6 separate regions of the Homo sapiens genome follow, and regions 1, 3, 4, 5 and 6 are each linked to region 2. Evidence: promoter capture Hi-C in 16 types of primary human blood cells and fetal thymus (Javierre and others, 2016). All regions are on one chromosome and are shown on one strand. Each heading gives the region's core, a stretch centred on a gene start or on the middle of the fragment in contact. The rest is flanking DNA. Distances are from core to core; before and after follow the strand shown.

Region 1 (2,757 bases), core at 53-2,552, 610 kb before region 2:
GCGGTAATGGTCCATGTACCAGTCCATGGCCTGGGGATTGGGGGCCTCTGCTTTAGAGAACAACGTCAACTTTGCTTTTTGTTCCTGAGTCATCCTCTATGACTAAAGTCTTGACACAGGTTTTGTTTTCTAGATGCTGCATTTGTATACATTATTTTCTCAGGGCTAATTCTATATATTTAGGATACAGCATCATATTTCTTTGCCATGGGAAAGAAACAACTGTTATTCCTGATGTCTGCCCCTCAAGCACGAACAGCTGGTATGCTACAAGTTGTTTTGTTGGTATAAGATAATATGTGGATGGTAAAGCACCACTGGTACTGGTATTACTGCTAGTAGAGGAAGAGGCAGAGGTAGTTATTGGCCAATGGTTGAGGTAAGGCAGGGCCTGGCAAACTTCCTCTGCAAAGTGCCAGATAGTAAACGTTTTAGGCTTTATGGAGCCACAAGTTTCTGTTGAAACTACTCAACTCTACCATTATGACACAAATGTAGCCAAAGACAATATACAAATAAATGGGCATGGGTGTGTTCCAATAAAACTTTATTTACAAAATAAGTGGCAAGCCAAATATGGTGCTCGGACCATGGTTTACTGACTCCTGATGTAAGGCTTTGGATTTTCAGATCTGGATTGAATAGTAATACTGACATTGTCTTTGCTGTGCTATCTTATTAATTCATCTACAAGTCACTCCATATTTAGTTTCCTCTCTTTAAAATTATTATTGGATTTCAAATTCTGATTGTTTTCTTTTTTTAGTGTAAAAATATCACCTTTAAAAAAATCATTACAAGAACAGATCCCTTTCCTATGCTGAGCATCAAAGGCTGATAGAAAAGTAGGTATATGTTACTCATAATTCAAAATATAAAACATTTTTTTTAACTGAATACAACCAATATTCCTGTATGGTGTTATGAGGTGAAGGCCAGAAAATTCTTAGTGATAGATTAGAAGGCCCTGTTCTCTAGAGGTTAAGACACAGCAATAAGGGCAGACCAGATATAAAGGAGAGAAGTCCTAGGACTCTAAGGGAGTTAAAGGCATCTGCGCATGGGACAGCAGTGCAGTCGCAGCATTTCAGGGCCTGACAAGTCACTCTGCAGCCTCTGAGCCTGTGGGTGTAACAGGGCAGCAGCCCGTGGCATTAGCCCTACAGCTGGATACGGGACTATTTTTCTATCCTGGGCCACATGTGTGGTGACAGAGCTGCACAGTTCTAGGAAATACAGGAAAAACCTTCAGCAGAATGAAAGCCTACAAACAAAGGAGAAGGAGGGAGGCAGGAAGTTCTTAGGGACACAGCAGAGTGGTCAGAAAGCCGTGACTGACAGCGACACTCTCCCCTCGGCAGTGCTTCTGCTGTGACATATTTTCTACTACTAACTATATTGGTTTTTCTAAACACTATGGTTTTAGTCAAATACACAACATCTTACCAAATGGATGAAGATTAAAAAATAAAATCATGAGACTAAGAATAACTACAAGCACTCTGAAAACATGCAAAAATGATTAATTTTCCAAAGATTATAAAGCCCCAAATTACTGGAACTAATTAAGTGAACGTGGTGTTCCCTATGAGATTTCTTAACCTGGCTTTGCTGGTCAGTTTTCTGTGGTTTAACTCAGGTGAAGTGAGATCAAGCAGAATCACAGGAGGGACATTACTGCCGTCCACCAAATACACTTCTGTTCGAGGCAGCAGGTTCCCCTCTATGATAAGGGACATAAAACTGAGCCTGCATCACCCCCTACGAGCCCAGTGCACTGTGAGGAGTGGACTTACGGCCCGTGCAGCGCTTCCAGTGCTCCTGCCCCACCGTCAGCAGCTCCTTCACGCCGTCATCCATGGCCTTGGTGAACTTCCCCACAGCCTCGCACTTCTGCTCTCTGTGGGTGAAGGCGGCCGTCAGTCACATAAGCAGGAGAAACAGCACTGCTGTGGGGATACTCGGGCCAAATATAACCACAGACACTTGTTTTCTTGCATGATAACAACTCCCCTTTCACTAAGTTAGCCTTAAATACAGGCTTGATGCAGACATTTAAAGAACTACTTAAAAAGCGCTGATTTATATTTTAACTTCGCTTCCTTTCTGCCTATACAATTCTTTGTGAATTTTAAAATTATTCTAAAGTAAATAAAATAATAATTTCTTGAATATCTTATTTAGGAAAATTCCAATCACTGGGGGGACCATCAAATCTATAAAAGAATAACAGGGGTTGCTAATGCTAGCTGGCCATTCATTCCAAGTACTCCATGAAACGGAGACAATAACCTGGATACACAATCACCTAAGTGATCCTAAAGATACCAGTTCTTTCTAAGGATGTCAAAAGTGTATTTACCAACCTGAAAAGATCACAATATACTGTTAGATGAAAAAAGCAGATTATAAAACAAAATGTCTAGTGTGAGGTCATTTTTGTTTAAACAATCTTTCCTATAATTACATACGTACAGAGGAGGATTTGGGAGACTAAACACTAACATATTAACACTGATTTTCTCTCTGCGTGGTTGAAGGGTTATGTGTGTGTGTGTGTGTGTGTGTTACTTGTCTATACTTTTGGTAACACATACGCAATAATTTTATGATAACAAAGCTTAAAATTATGTAGTCCCAGCTACTCGAGAGGCTGAGGCAGGAGAATGGCGTGAACCTGGGAGGCGGAGCTTGCAGTGAGCGGAGATCGTGCCACTGCACTCCAGCCTGGGTGACAGAGCAAGACTCCGTCTCAAA
Region 2 (3,034 bases), core at 434-2,933:
GTTTTTTATCATCAGAAACCCCACGGAGCTTTTACATTCTGCCCTGCCACCCGCGGGCCTTCAGAGCTCTAATCTCCCGTGGTAGATAGACCTTGATAATCCATCATTTTTAAAAATCCCCATAGGCAATGCTGCAAAATAGCTACTGGAATCAAAGGTGGTAATAGTTAGAGCTAACATGTATTGAATATTTATATGTGCCAGGCACTGTGCTAACTTCTTTATAGATGTTGCTTCATTTAATTCTCACAGTAATCCTATGAGTTAGGTACTATCAGTTTTTGTGTGTGGGGGGGGCGGGATGGGGTGGATGGCAGAGTTTCACTCTTGTCATCCAGGCTGGAGTGCAACGGCTCGATCTCGGCTCACTGCAACCTCTCCCTCCCAGGTTCAAGCCATTCTCCTGCCTCAGCCTCCCGAGTAGCTGGGATTACAGTCCCGCATCATTAGACTCCGCTAATTTTTGTATTTTTAGTAGAAACGGGGTTTCACCATGTTGGCCAGGCTGATCTCGAACTTCTGATCTCCACCTGCCTCAGCCTCCCAAAGTGCTGGGATTACAGGCGTGAACCACCGCGCCTGGCCTACTACCAGTTTTTAAATTTTACAGGTGAGGAAACTGAGCTATAGAGGGGCTAAGTTACCCCAAGTTCACACACCTGAGAAGCGGTTTAGGACCCGAGCCCAGGTTTGAGCTATTAACTGCACTTCACTGACGCAAAAATGGATGCATTCATTTACTCATTCATCCAACATGCATTTGATGTTGGTAACCAGTTAATATCTGAAAGCTGGGGGATATAAACTGAACATAGAGTCCCATCTCCATCCTCAGGAAACTCATGCCCTCCGGTGATGGGGGGCAGGACAAATAGCAGAGAGACCGCCTTATTTTACAAGATGTCATTGTTCTCTGAGAGGCTGAAAAGATTTTCTATCACCACTAGCCTCCTCCTCTCCACGGCCATTTACAGAATGGGCAAACCAGCCTCCCAGCGGAAGACCAAGCTTGCTAGCGGTCAACGTTGCCGGCAGCTCTGCAAGCGCTTCCAGCGGGCGTCGCTCTCCTTTCGGGGGTGGTACTTTCATTCGGTCATCCTGTGAGTGTTCCACTTCCCGACGGAGGCCGAGCACTCACACCGCGGCGGAGGTACCCGTCACCGCAGAACCGGGTGGCTGGCTCTCCTCCAGGGAGAAAGCCTGTCACTTATTCCTCAACACTGTTGGGAAGTTACCTAGAAAAGTACAGACAGAAGACCTAGGCTTGCGTTTTAGAATCGTGGAGTGTTAGCGCTGGCCAAATCGTTGGACACAATGTAAGCTTGATCAGGAAAATGAGCTCCAGGGTCTCACAGGCGGGGCCTGGAATCTTGGCGCAATCTGCGACCCTCACTGCCTCCTACAGTCGGGGCTGAGCGTTCTTTCAAACAGCCAAAGTAATCACTTAAGTCCAGCAATGATCTCCTTGGAGAAATCAAAAGATCCTCCCTAAGAGACGGCCTTGGAGGGCATCGCCCCTGGGGCTGGGCACAGCACGTCTTCCCGGCCCCGGCGCGGGAGGAGGGTTTGGGGACAGCGGCCGCACTCCGGACCCTTCTTCAGATTGCACAGGAGGAGGCGGTAGCGGAACCTTTCTCCTCCGCCTGGTTCTCGCTTCCACCCGGGCCCAGTTGGGGACGGACGCACTAGAGGCGACCTAAACATGGAGACAGCGGGCGCTGCAACTGGGCAGCCGGCCTCTGGGCTGGAGGCTCCGGGGTCCACGAATGACCGGCTTTTCCTGGTTAAAGGTAAGATGTGCTGTGGTGAGGTGCGGGCGTCGGGGTGAGTTAACCCCGGACCCTGGCTTGCTCTGGAGCGGGCATTCCCACACACATCCCGCTCTGAGAGCCCTTAGCTTGTGCTTGCCCCTGAGTTTAGCCCGCGGAGTCTGGCGGCCCAGGGAGGGTAGGTCGCTTACTGGGTGGAGTCTCCCCTTGGGCGGGGCGGGGGGCAGATCCCGCGAGCTATTCTCCCGGGCGTGCCATATTTCCCCGTCACCTCTGCAATTGTTCTAGAGCCTTGCCTTTTCTGATTGCCATCGTCTCTTCTCCTCCCCGTGAGAAACTTCACGCTGTGGTCCCAGGGGAGAGGGGAAGGGAAGCTGAACCTTTTCTCTGCGCTCGGGAATAATAATTCGGAATGACCCAAGGAACCAGAGGTCGTGCGGTCACGCGTGTTTCTCAGCCGCTGTCATTTACTGTTAGCAAGAGCTGCTTAGCCATGGTTTCTTGAATTTCAAAAGTGATTTTGATTGTAACTCGAATAGTATCTTAAACTTACTTTTGTACATCTTTTTAACCTCTTTTTATTTAATTTTTTTTAATATCCCCCCTCCTCCCCGAAACTCTTGGCAGGTGGAATTTTCCTTGGTACCGTTGCTGCAGCGGGAATGCTAGCTGGATTTATTACAACATTATCATTGGCTAAAAAGAAAAGCCCTGAATGGTTCAATAAGGTTGGTGACACTGAAATCCATTCATAGCATTGTTATTGTTTACAATATATGGCAGCTTTTGCGTAGAAAAAATAAAATATTGATGGTCTTTCACATTGCTTTAAGATGTGAATTTATATACGCTCATGGATTCTAGAAATGTACAAATTAACCAAGTCTTTATTTTCATTTAGAAGGATGTACTTATGTGCTTTCTTAAATTTTAGCGGAACAAGACTTTGAAAGCTTATCTGGTACATTTCCTATTCACAACATGACTTTGAATCTAAATTTGGGCCAGGCATCGTGGTTCATGCCTGTAATCCCAGCACTTTGGGAAGCCGAGAGGGGCAGATCACCTGAGGTCAGGAGTTTGAGACCAGCCTGGCCAACATGGCGAAAACCCATCTCTACTAAAAATACAAAAATGAGCCAGGTGTGGTGTGGCACTCCTGTAGTCCTAGCTACTCGGGAGGCTGAGGCAGGAGAATCACTTGAACCCAGGAGGCTGAGGTTGTAGTGAGCCCAGATAACACCACTGCACTTCAACCTGGGTGA
Region 3 (2,925 bases), core at 70-2,569, 580 kb before region 2:
TTTAGAATTTTTCTTTTAGTAAACAGAAGAAAAGGAAGCAAAATATCTACAATGGGAAAAGGAATCTTATTTCTACGAAGTTCCAGTCGCATTGCTTCTACTTTCATTCATGTGCCAAGCCAAAGGCCAGTGTGATGCTCTCAGGGGCCCGTGTCTTCTTTTCCTGCATTCTCAGCTGACTTCCCTTGAGTCTCCTTTCTCTAGACATTCCTTTAAAACGCAGCTTACACAAGAGACCAGATGTGTCCTGCAGCTGGATGGCATGGGGTTTGAATTCTGACTCCAACACTTAGGTAGCCTTAGGGGCTGAAATCTCCTTGTGGAAGAATGAGACCAGAATGACCTACCTTCTAAGGTGATAAGGGAATTAAAGATTTATGTAAAGAACCTAGTATGTACTCAGTACATTTCAGTCATTGGCAACTAAGTCATCCTCTCTTTGGAAGTACTCCCTGCAGCCGCAGGTAGAGTCTTCCTAGGCATTTTGAGCATATTTTGTGATTCTATTCATCACACCTGACTGCCGCTATCCATTTACCTATTACAGCAGCCAGAGGGACTTAGAGGAAGCATTTGTGTTTTCAGGACCTGGAGGAGTTTTGGGAGCATACTGAATGCTTAATGAATTAGGCTAACCTGCAACACTTTTATTTATTAATTACTCTATTTTATTTATTTTTTTGAGACAGAGTCTCACTCTGTCGCCAGGCTGGAGTACAGTGGCGCGATCTCGGCTCACTGTAACCTCCACCTCCTGGTTCAAGCGATTATCCTGCCTCAGTCTCCCAAGTAGCTGGGACTACAGGTGCGCTTCTGTGGGGATTATATATCATGACAACTCCTTGACCAGCTTGTAAGCATTTCAATTTTTGGGCACTGTTATGGACCACAGAAAAATTTGAGGACAGCAATGTATTAATTATTTCAGCATCATCAAGATGCCTTTTATTTTTTTTTTGGAGACAGAGTCTCTGTGTCGCCCAAGCTGGAGTGCAGTGGTGCCATCTCGGCTCACTGCAACCTCCGTCTCCCGGGTTCAAGCGATTCTCCTGCCTGAGCCTTCCAAGTAGCTAGGATTACAGGCGTGCCACCACGCCCAGCTACTTTTTTATATTTTTGGTACAGATTGAGGTTTCACCATGTTGGCCAGGCTGGTCTCGAATTCCTGACCTCGTGATCTGCCTGCCTCGGCCTCCCAAAGTGCTAGGATTACAGACATGAGGCACTGCACCTGGCCCAAGGTGAATTCTTATAGTGCTCAAGTATATTTAATTTCAGATCTCTTTTTCTAGTATAAGATTTATGTTCCATGACTAGAATACAGCTGTCATATAAAATGGATTAATTGCTGAAAAAGTGTTAATACTTAAAAACATTTTTTATAATTGTTTTAAGTTTAAGTGACTCATTTATACAGTTTAGTTAAATACAAATACACAGGGTGTTAAATCGTTCACAGCACTACAGAGAGACAGAGATGCCTCAGAGGCACAGGTTCAAGTTAGGACTGCTTTAATGTGGTTTCAGCCTGGAATGATATTTTAGAGCAGAAAGAATTCTTAAAGCCAACCTCCTTGCTTTCGAGATGAAGAAACTGAGGTTCCAACAGGTCACGAAACTTGCCTTAAGGTTATAAGCAAATCAGAGAGCAAGTGTGGAGCAGAGGAGAGCACCAAAAACCAGAGTCAGAGACCCCCAGGCATGAGCTGGAACCTCACTCATCAGCCATGAAAACGTGGCCACTCATTTTTCTCAGTCTCTGCTTCCTTCGTTTTCAAAATGGGGCTAATTTATATGAATTTTCAATATACTTTATATTCACATTTAAAGAACAGCTGACAATGATGCACATCACTACTGACCATGACTGAAAACTTCAAATTTGACTCTGAAACAAGACACAGTTGACTAACAAGACAGAGAATTATTCACTTTATTATGCATGCAATTGAGCAGGAAAATATATAATGGAAGAAACTGGGTAAGAGGCAGCAAAAGTGTGCAGTCAAAAGAGAACTCATTTAATCACTGAAGCTATTTAAATATACTTTGGAGAACTTGTAGGACTTATTAAACTAGATCTAGACCTAGATCTTGATGTCTAAATATATGTCAAATGTTATGTTTTTAATTTTTCCAGACACAGATTAACATTCTTTGATATCTGCCTTGAATCATGGAATTGGAATATTGGGAAAAAGTATTAGTAATTTCAAAAAATAAACTAAACATAACTGCTGGAAGGAGTACTTGAAAATTCTGATGGAAGTCATAAATTACTAATATATCTCCTTCAAGCTACACTGGCATAGACTACAGCCTTATTTAGGTCTCTCCAAAGAATCCTACAGTGGTCACTGGTGCCCACATGCTTTCCTGTTAAGTAGGGTATCTACAAGTACTGTTAAAAACTTTTTTTTTTTGGCTAGGTGTGGTGGCTCAAGCCTGTAATCCCAGCACTTTGGGAGGTAGAGGCGGGCGGATCACTTGAGACCAGGAGCTTGAGACCAGCCTGGCCAACGTGGTAAAACCTCGTCTCTACTAAAAATACAAAAATTAGCTGGGCGCGGTGGCACATGTTTGTAATCCCAGCTACTCAGGTGGCTGAGGCACGAGAATTGCTTGAACCCGGGACGTTGGGGTTGCAGTGAACCAAGATCGCACCACTGCACTTCAGCCTGGGTGACAGAGCGAGACGCCTGTCTCAAAACAAAAAAATAAAACACAACACTTTTTTTTTTGTTTTAAATCTAAGAGAAACCTAAGCTAACACAAAGCTCCGGACCACGTTTTTAGGCACAGGAGCTGAAACACGTGCTTTGGCGCCTGAGGGCCTGGCTTCCTGACTGGAACACTCGATGCGTCTCTCTGGGCATCAGTTTGCCTGCAGTAAAACAGGGGTTTTATGTACCACAAAGGGATATG
Region 4 (2,896 bases), core at 114-2,613, 810 kb before region 2:
TGAGTGTGCATTTATTACAGGAATACGATAGAGGTGATTTTGTGTCCTTCCCAGTATGTCATGCCCAGAAGCACGTGATGCCAGCTCAACACTTATTGGCTGATGTTTCCTTTGTTCACTTGGTTAAAGTGATGTCTGCCAGTTTTCTCTGCTTGAATGTTAATATATTTATGTATTTGAAATTAATACACGATTTTAGGAGGAGGAGATACTTTGAGATTAGGAGACTGTCCTGTTGCTCTTCAAACTTTCAGCCAGTGGTTTTATTTAATAATAATCTTTGAATGAATGTTGCCTGAATAACAGTTATTGTTAGGTGGTTGCAAAATGCTGAGTTTTTCCCCCTAATTTTATTACTCCTTACTCATTTATTTAGTATTCTTCTGTAGGAAAAGCTTTCTTCTTCCTCTCATTTCTCCTTTCTGCTTTTCTAATCCATATGGGATAACACATGGTTATTTTTCTTCACTAGATTATAATCTCTTACTATCCTTATTCATACTGATGTTCAAATTGTCCCAGGTTTGGCTGTGGGAGCCCCTTCAGGTTGTCTCCCATGTCTTTTGTAAATGGTTTCATTCATTATTTTTGGAGTTCTTGCTTATTTTTTGGTATTAGAAAATGTTCATCTTAGACTTTCCCTGTTCTAGCCCTAGAATAAGCTGATTTTTTAAGCAGGCTTGGTTCCTTTTAGGGCTAATGGTATTTAGTAACCAAGTTCTGGGCTAGGTAAGCTCATTGCTGCTGTCATTGCTTTCAGGCCTTCAGTGGATAGAGCTGGGGAAAGAGGCAGCTTCATATGGTTCCATTCAATATGTACCTTTTATTTTTTAATGACATCAGTGTGAATGCTGTTGATGCTTCACTGAATAAGAACATTGAACTGTTGATCTCAAACCATTGTTGCTAGGGAATGCTGAAAGCAGTGTAGATTTGGGATCACTAGTATGAGAATGTGCAACTTCACCGTTTGGTGATAGTTGGCATTGAAAGGAAGAGTGAATATAACCGTATTTTCAGATAGCTGCAACATGAGATGTGATATGAAAATACCTGTGCTTTCCCTTACTGCTAGAATCACAGGTACTGCTAGTGTTACTGTGGTTTATTGTCTGTGTTCATAACTGAATACTATGCAGAATATCAGTTAGAGGTTAGGAAAAAACAAAGGTAATTTTTTTTTCCATCCAAGTTTACACCCTACCTGCCTTGAATTCTATCTACCCCATACCCCTAAGGACCCTTGTTAAAAACTCTTGCTTTAGAATGAACATCATTTTAAAGCCCAGTTAGTTTGCACAAATCACAGAGCTCTAAGGTTGTAACTTTTTATGAAGAAACACCAGAGATGGGCCAGGTGCAGTGGCTTACGCCTGTAATCCCAGCACTTTGGGAGGCCGAGGCGGGCGGATCACGAGGTCAGGAGATCGAGACCATCCTGTCTAACATGGTGAAACCCTATCTCTACTGAGAATACAAAAAATTAACTGGGCGTGGTGGCACATGCCTATAGTCCCAGCTACTCAGGAGGCTGAGGCAGGAGAATAACTTGAACCCGGGAGGCGGAGCTTGCAGCGAGCTGAGATTGCACCACTGCACTCCAGCCTGGGCGACAGAGAGAGACTCCATCTCAAAAAAAAAAAAAAAAAAAAAAAAATTAACACCAGAGATTAGCTCTTTTATATTACTGTTGCCTTTCCATTTTTCTACCTATTCCTTTTTTTTTTTTGTCTGTTTGAGACAGGGTCTCACTCTGTTGCCCAGGCTGGGGTGCAGTGGCATGATCATGGCTTACTGCAGCCTTGACCTCCCTGGGCTAGGCAATCCTCCCACCTCAGCCTCCCGGGTAGCTGGGACAGCAGGTGTGCACCACCTTGCCCAGCTAATTTTTTGTAGAGATGGGGTTTCACTGTATTGACCAGGCTGGTCTTGAACGCCTGGGCTCAAGCAATCCACTTGTCTCAGCCTCCCAAAGTGTTGGGATTACAGGCGTGAGCTACCACGCTCGGCCTGTACCTACTCTTTATTATTGTTTTTAATATTGTCATTCTCTAGCTTTTCCTGTGCACTTCCTTAATCCTTATAAAATTATTTTTTGTTGCACTCATAGAATTTGATGTTTGGTGTTTCTTAAATCTTTATGAATTTATTTAGTCTTGTCATATCTTAGTTCAGTATAAAGTAGCAGTAACTATGTACATTTATTTTTACATTAGGGTTTAGAATATAATCCATACAACCATACTGTGAGTTTGTTCCTTTGTATTCATTCCTTTTTGCTTGTACTTCTTACTGCCACAAAATCTGCCAATTCATAGGTAACAAGCTTCGCCAAAAGTGAGAATGAAATGGGAACTGCACTCTACATCACACTGCGGAAATGGCCAAGACAAATGAAAGTCCTAGATCATTTTTCTTTGCCTTCTCTCCTCTCTGTCCTTGGGGAATTTAGAGTAGAACTAGATGAGATAGATAATTCAAGGGTACAAGGTGGGAAGAGGGGTTTGGGGGAGCCAGGATGTGGCGATAAATCTTCAACTAAAAATTCCTACCCCCCGACAAAGCTTACCAATCCACTATTTACCATTGTCTCTGCCAGAGAAGGACGACTTTTCATGACTTAGCCCCATCTCAGTCCTCAGTTTAAATGATGTGACTCTGAGATCCAAGCATGTTTAAATTTAGAAAAAAATAATATTATATACGAGAAGAAGGCATGAATAAAAAGTATAGAGTGGCCAAAAATTATTTTTAGTTGGTTTACTGAACCATGGACCTTATAAATTAACTAAAAATGCAGAATCTTATGGATTATATTTCCTATGGAAAACACTGGGCTTTATATTAATATATACATTTTTTAGCCATTACCTTGTAGTTGTCCTCTTTTGCCAGC
Region 5 (2,950 bases), core at 292-2,791, 650 kb before region 2:
GGGTATTTATAAAGAAAATAGATGTCATTGGCTCACGCTTCCACAGGCTGTACAGGAAGCATGGTGCTGGCGTCTGCTTCTGGGGAGGCCTCAGGAGGCTTACAGTCATGGTGGAAGGCAACCAGGAACCAGCATGTCACGTGGTGAGATTAGAGCAGGAGAGCTGGGGGGAGGTGCCGCACTCTTTCAAACACTCAGATCTCCCGTGAACTAACTGAGCAAGAACTCACTTATCATCAAGAAGATGGTACTAAACCATTCATGAGAGGTCCACCCTCATGATGCAATCCTCCCACCAGGCCCCACCTCCAGCACTGGGGATTACATTTCAACAGGAGATTTGGAGTGGACAGACATCTAACCCCTATCAGAGCCCGAGCCGAGTAAGACAGGAGAGGTTTAAAGGAAATACAAATCTGTATTTGGTGCCTGATTGTATGATATGAGCTGCACAAAGGAAAGTGGGAAGTCAGACAGGACCCTGGCATTTTGAGAATGGGACAGCAGCGATACCATCCCAGAGTGAGGAGGAGGCGAGTTTAATTGGAGACAGAGACCGGGTGGGCAGGTCGTCCAGTGGGAAATGCCTACAGATGAGGGGCCAGAAATGAGTATGGCAGCGATCAAAGGGGAGTGGAGACAGACAGGGGTAGAAGGCAGGGGCAGGAGGAAAAGACGATCAAGAAGTACCCCGAGAAAGCAGAGGGGCCAAGGGCGTGACCTGGACAGCTCTGGATCTCACATGAACTGAGTGAAAACTCATCGTCTAGAGGATGGCGCTAAACCATTCCTGAGGGCTCCTCCCTCTCAGAAAAGGAGGCATTTTTTAACAGACCGGAAGGAGGTAAGAGAAACAGCCATCAGGCATCTGGGGCTACAGCCTCCCACATGCAAAAGCCCTGAGAGGTGACTGGTTTAAAAACCTCAGGAAGGTATCCAAGAATCAGGACTCAGAAAAGAAACTTGGTTTGGTGAGAAGGTAACGGGGACCTTTGAGGGGGCAGCTTCACTAGAGGGCTGGGCAAAAAAGCCAGCTTGCAAAGAAATAAGGAAGAAATGGCGCTGTGAGTGTAGTCTGCTGGCTCTGGAAGCCAGGCTGGGAGAAACACAAGATGAACAGAATGGGGGGCAGACGGGATAGCAGAGACCCTCGAGGACTGGCCAGACCTGCACATGGTGGAAGGCAAATAGCAAAGAGCAGAGCAGGAGAGCTCACTCCCCAGCACAGAGAGGCACCTGTCTCTAGAGGGGAGAAAGGAAGTCCCCTGAAAAGGAGGTGGCAGGATCTTCAGAGGGAGGGAGAGGAGGTTGGGAGGACAGGTATGGAGGCAGAAGGGAGCAGGCAGTGGGACAGGGCTGTGGGCAAGCTGGAGGAGGAGGCGCCATCCTCCCAAGAACTGGCCCTTGGTGAGCTCCCCATGAGGACACGAGGGTGGGAATGGGAGTTAGCGAGAGTGGGAAAGGCCCAGGACGCTGGCCACGGTGCACACAATCTAGAAGTCATAGTCAAGATCCTCTGGGCCTAAACCCAGGGTGGACTGAAGTACTGGAGGTAGCCTTGGCTGACCGGCTCTCTGGTTCCTCTGCAAAACGAGGAGAAAGCCTCAAGCCTGCCAGTTCTAACTGAAAATCATATCCAGGCTCGGAGCACGGTTCACTGGCTCACTGTTTCAGGTTTGGTTCCCTGTGGCAGGGACTCTGAGCAGGGGATGTGCCTGCGGGGTCTGTGCTGGGGAGAAAGATGGACGGGGAGGGGGAGGATGAGGAGTCGAGTTGCCTGAGTGCATCCGGCGGTCCTGGCTTCTGAAGAGGGGCGACCTGGGCAGGGCACCCCAGCCGGGAGCAACACTCGCAGCACTGGGGGAATAGATGCTCCCTCCAGGACCTACAGTTTGAGGTCAGGGCAGACACCCACTGTCCCCACCTGGTCTGGCATCTTTAGCTTGGATCTAGTCACCCTTCTTCTCCCCAACCTCGCTGGCAGCCAGAGTGGCCCTGCTGACACCGTCAATCTGCACAGCTCACTCTGTGGAGGCTGAAGTCCAGGCGCTCTGTGGTCTGGCCGGTCTCCCGTCCCATATGTGGCTGCTCTCTGCCTTGTCCAGCCAGGCTCGCCGTGGTCCTCATGCTGGTGCACCAGGTGAGCCCCCACACAGGGCTTCTGCATGTGGAAGGCAGCTGCCCCAGAGGCCCGACGCTACTTCTCTTACCTCCTTCACAACCATCAAAAAACAGCTTCTTAGTGAGGCCTTCCCGAGCCTCTCTATCTAAACTTCCTCCCCCCATCCACTCCGTTATGAGCTGAATTTTGCCCCCCAAATCCATGTGTTGAACTCCTAACCCCCAGTACCTCAGAATGGGACTGCATTTAGAGGTGTGATCTTTAAATAGATGGTTAAGTCAAAAGGAGGTCTTTGGGGTAGGCTCTAATCTATCAGGACTGGAAATTTTTGCCAGGTGCGGTGGTTCACGCCTGTAATCCAGCACTTTGAAAGGCCAAGGCAGGAGGATCACTTGAGGCCAGGAGTTTGAGACCAGCTTGGACAACATGGTGAGGCTCCGTCTCTACAAAAAATTAAAAGAAAGATAGGCAGGCATGGTGGCATGCATCTGTAGCCCCAGCTACTCAGGAGGCTGAGGTAGGCGGATCATGTGAGCCCAGGAGTTTGACATTACAGTGAGCTATGGTCACACCACTGGACTCCAGCCTGGGTGACAGAGCGAGACCCTGTCTCTTAAAACAAAAAACAAAGGCCGGGCGCAGTGGTTCACGCCTGTAATCCTAGCACTTTGGGAGGCCGAGGAGGGTGGATCGCTTGAGCCTGCGAGCTCAAGACTAACCTGGGCAACATAGTGAAACTCCATCTCTACACAAAATACAAAAAAAGTAGCTGGGGCAGTGGTGCACACCTGTAGTCCCAGCTACTTGGGAGGCTGAGGTAGGAGGACC
Region 6 (3,047 bases), core at 218-2,717, 720 kb before region 2:
GTCTATGAGGGATGAGAGATAAGACTGACCAGGAAGCTGTCTTCATGTTACTACATCTCACGGTGTCCCTGTTCCCACAAAGACAGGAGGAAACTCTCATTCAGTGCTCACGGCACCAAGAGCCATGCTTCTCCGGATGCCACCATTGGTTTTATCTCCTGGGTGTTATCATTTGTTTCTATTAGTATCAATAGCAGCTGCCATTTTGAGTACTTTTTAGATTCTAGATACTGTGTGTTTTTTTTTTTTTTTTTTTTTTTTTTTTTTTGACAGAGTCGCACTCTGTTGACCAGGCTAGAGTGTGGTGGCACAATCTTGGCTCACTGCAAACTCCGCCTCCCAGGTTCAAGTGATTCTCCTGCCTCAGCCTCCTGAATAACTGGGATTACAGGAACCTGACACCATGCCTAGCTAATTTTTGCATTTTTAGTGGGGATGGGATTTCACCATGTTGGCCAGGCTTGTCTTAAACTCCTGACCTCAAGTGATCTGTCCACCTTGGCCTCCCAAATTGCTGGAATTACAGGCATGAGCCCCCATGCCCAGCCAAATTCTTATATTACGCTCTTTAATCCTCTCTAGAACCCTATAAGGTAGATATTGTTAGCCCCATTTTACAGAAAAGTAAACTAAGGCTTGGCACAGATAAGAGCCTCTCAAACACACATGGTTACAAAGCAGGGGAGCCAGAGTTTGAATTTGAGCCCAGGTCTGCGTCGCTTCAAAGCTCGTGCTCTGAGTCACTGTCATAAACTGGCTGTGACTGTGGTTCTTTCTGTGGTGGCTGCGGGGAAGCTTGGAACAAGCGTCAGGTTCCTTCCCACGCACACAAGACCCACGGCATGCATCGTGGGCACCAATTCGACTCTTGCCCTTCATCCAGACCTCTTCACTTATTTTTGAAACTGTTATACTACAAGCCATCTCATGTCCTTTTTGGAAAAAAGGAAGGTACAAACACACAAGCCCATCCAGCGCCACGACTCCACAAACTTGGCGAATGGTTTCTGGCAGGAAAGAGGTGAAGGCAGGGCAAGAGGGGTCTGCTCTACTCGGCATCCTCCTCCGTTTGGTTCAGTTGCAGGAAACTTCAAAAGACAGACTGAACTCACCTTGGCAAGGCACGTGTCTATACAGCATATGGTGGGGGGAAGCTTCTACAATGACCAGGGGAGCAACGTTGTCAACCACAGACACAGATCATAAATAGATTCTCGAACTAGCTAGACCAGGGAGCAATTTGCTTTAAGGGTAAAATTTCAATGTGGCTATTTATAAACTGCACAGCCCATTTACACGTAAAAATGAAATTTATTAAAGGTACACGGCTGCTAGAAATGGAGTCAGGAAGTACTGAAGGTACCATTACCCAGGAAAACATGCAGACAAATCCTCATCCACCACCCTCTGCTCAACCCTGCCCCATCCTGCTGGGCTCCTGGGTTTCCAACGGCAGCTGTCAAGGAGGGACAGCATTGCAGCTTAATACGCAAGCTACTCACCCCAAAATCTTTGCACTTTTCATCTAACCTAAGTGAAGAAGGAAGAGAAAAAGTTCAAAGTGGAGAAAAATAACTAGAAGCAGCCTTAGGCTTGATAGTGACAGTTGAAGCCGGTGACGGTAGACCACCACTTCCCGCTGCCCTCCCGGCCCCCTGTGAAGATGACTTCATCTCTCTTTGATGATGAGTGGTGTTTAGAGGCTAAACACAGGTATTAGGCCCAAAGGTTAGCAAATCCTTAATAAGATTAAGGAACACTAAAGCCTTCTGAAGCTTGTTTTGAAGAAACCATGGAGGCCGGGCGCGATGGCTCACGCCTGTAATCCTAGCACTTTGGGAGGCCGAAGCGGGCAGATCACTTGAGGTCAGAAGTTCAAAACCAGCCTGGTCAACGTGATGAAACCCTGTCTCTACTAAAAATACAAAAAAAATTAGCCAGGCATGGTGGTGGGTGCCTGTAACCCCAGCTACTTGTGAGGCTGAGGCAGGAGAATCTCTTGAACCCAGGAAGTGGAGGTTGCAGTGAGCCGAGGTCGTGCCATTGCACTCCAGCCTGGGTGACAGAGCAAGACTTCGTCTCAAAAACAAAACAAAACAAGAAACAAAAAGAAGAAACCATGGAGGCTTTGGTGCAGCACAAATGTTAGGAATTTAAGAGGGTGAAACAGCTGCCAAAAAGCTGAGACCTCGTGGTCCACTGCTCCTGGCCCCTGACAGACCAAGGCACAGTCATCCCATGGCGGGTCAGGCTACATCTGAGGCAGCACGAAGGTCAAGGTAAGACCAAAATGAAATCCAAGAGGGGAACGACAAAAAGGAGTGTCATTTTTTAGATGAGGGAGATGAGAACATTGAGAGTCTTAGAAACAGGAGGGAAGGTGGCCAAAGGAGTTGGGAGGCCTTAGAGAAGACAAGAAGAAGAAGAGGGAACCAGAAGACTCCCTCCAAGGACTGAGGGTGAGTCACACGGAGAAGAATCAGACATATTCCCGCGCACCCCAAAACACTCTAGAGTCAGACAGACGCAGCAGTGCAATACAGGAGGAATTCACCAAGAGTCGGAACCATCCCCAGTTGTGGCCTGGAGGACAGCCCTTTGGAGGTCCTGGAAGAGGATCCCTGAACTGGCCTGGCTAGGTGCGGTGGCTCACGCCTGTAATCCCAGCACTTTGGGAGGCTGAGGCGGGTGGATCACCTGAAGTCAGGAGTTCAAGACCAGCCTGGCTAACATGGTGAAACTCCATCTCTACTAAAAATACAACAAAATTAGCTGGGTGTGGTAGTGGGCACCTGTAGTCCCAGCTACTCTGGAGGCTGAGGCAGGGGAACGGCTTGAACTCGGGGGGCAGATGTTGCAGTGAGCCGAGATTGCACCACTGCACTCCAGCCTGGGCAACAGAGTGAGACTCCATCTCAAAAAAAAAAAAAAAAAAAAAAAAAAGGAGGACCCCTGAACTGAGAGTCAGAGGGTGGAATGGATGAATTCCAAAGGGTCCTTCCCAAATTCTAAGAATCCATCATGACCATTCCCCTAATTTTTGGATT

Evidence for each region. Contacts are between HindIII fragments. The CHiCAGO score rates a contact against its expected background, and 5 or more counts as called.
Region 1: a contact is called between a fragment that was not itself captured here and the fragment with the promoter of TMEM242 in region 2, in 3 of 17 cell types (naive CD4 T cells, activated CD4 T cells and endothelial precursors). The highest score is 6.7, in naive CD4 T cells.
Region 3: a fragment that was not itself captured here is called in contact with the fragment with the promoter of TMEM242 in region 2 in 6 of 17 cell types (naive CD4 T cells, naive CD8 T cells, total CD4 T cells and 3 more); the score reaches 9.7 in naive CD4 T cells.
Region 4: a fragment that was not itself captured here is called in contact with the fragment with the promoter of TMEM242 in region 2 in 1 of 17 cell types (activated CD4 T cells); the score reaches 5.2 in activated CD4 T cells.
Region 5: a contact is called between a fragment that was not itself captured here and the fragment with the promoter of TMEM242 in region 2, in 5 of 17 cell types (fetal thymus, naive CD8 T cells, activated CD4 T cells and 2 more). The highest score is 6.8, in fetal thymus.
Region 6: a contact is called between a fragment that was not itself captured here and the fragment with the promoter of TMEM242 in region 2, in 1 of 17 cell types (total CD8 T cells). The highest score is 5.4, in total CD8 T cells.

What each region holds. Positions count from the first base shown.
Region 1 is chr6:157,927,742-157,930,498 of GRCh38, reverse strand. It overlaps SNX9 (sorting nexin 9), which reads right to left. Exons shown (of 18, transcript NM_016224.5): 12 at 1,797-1,900. Among named protein-coding and RNA genes, the nearest start is that of SNX9-AS1, 36 kb to the right of the region's middle. RefSeq lists an enhancer at 1-28. The HindIII fragment of the contact is 2,640 bases long and covers 1-2,622 here.
Region 2 is chr6:157,322,168-157,325,201 of GRCh38, reverse strand. TMEM242 (transmembrane protein 242) reads left to right here and starts at 1,683. Exons shown (of 4, transcript NM_018452.6): 1 at 1,683-1,790; 2 at 2,397-2,497. The coding sequence starts at 1,703. TMEM242-DT (TMEM242 divergent transcript) reads right to left here and starts at 1,568. Exons shown (of 1, transcript NR_187268.1): 1 at 725-1,568. RefSeq lists enhancers at 971-1,400, 1,581-1,920. The HindIII fragment of the contact is 1,401 bases long and covers 1,324-2,724 here.
Region 3 is chr6:157,902,466-157,905,390 of GRCh38, reverse strand. All of the region lies in intron 6 of SNX9 (sorting nexin 9), which reads right to left. Among named protein-coding and RNA genes, the nearest start is that of SNX9-AS1, 11 kb to the right of the region's middle. The HindIII fragment of the contact is 3,736 bases long and covers 1-2,925 here.
Region 4 is chr6:158,132,140-158,135,035 of GRCh38, reverse strand. All of the region lies in intron 8 of SERAC1 (serine active site containing 1), which reads left to right. Among named protein-coding and RNA genes, the nearest start is that of SERAC1, 35 kb to the left of the region's middle. The HindIII fragment of the contact is 1,931 bases long and covers 398-2,328 here.
Region 5 is chr6:157,975,843-157,978,792 of GRCh38, reverse strand. No RefSeq gene overlaps it. Among named protein-coding and RNA genes, the nearest start is that of SYNJ2, 4.5 kb to the left of the region's middle. The HindIII fragment of the contact is 6,383 bases long and covers 1-2,950 here.
Region 6 is chr6:158,044,996-158,048,042 of GRCh38, reverse strand. All of the region lies in intron 5 of SYNJ2 (synaptojanin 2), which reads right to left. Among named protein-coding and RNA genes, the nearest start is that of SYNJ2-IT1, 45 kb to the right of the region's middle. The HindIII fragment of the contact is 621 bases long and covers 1,157-1,777 here.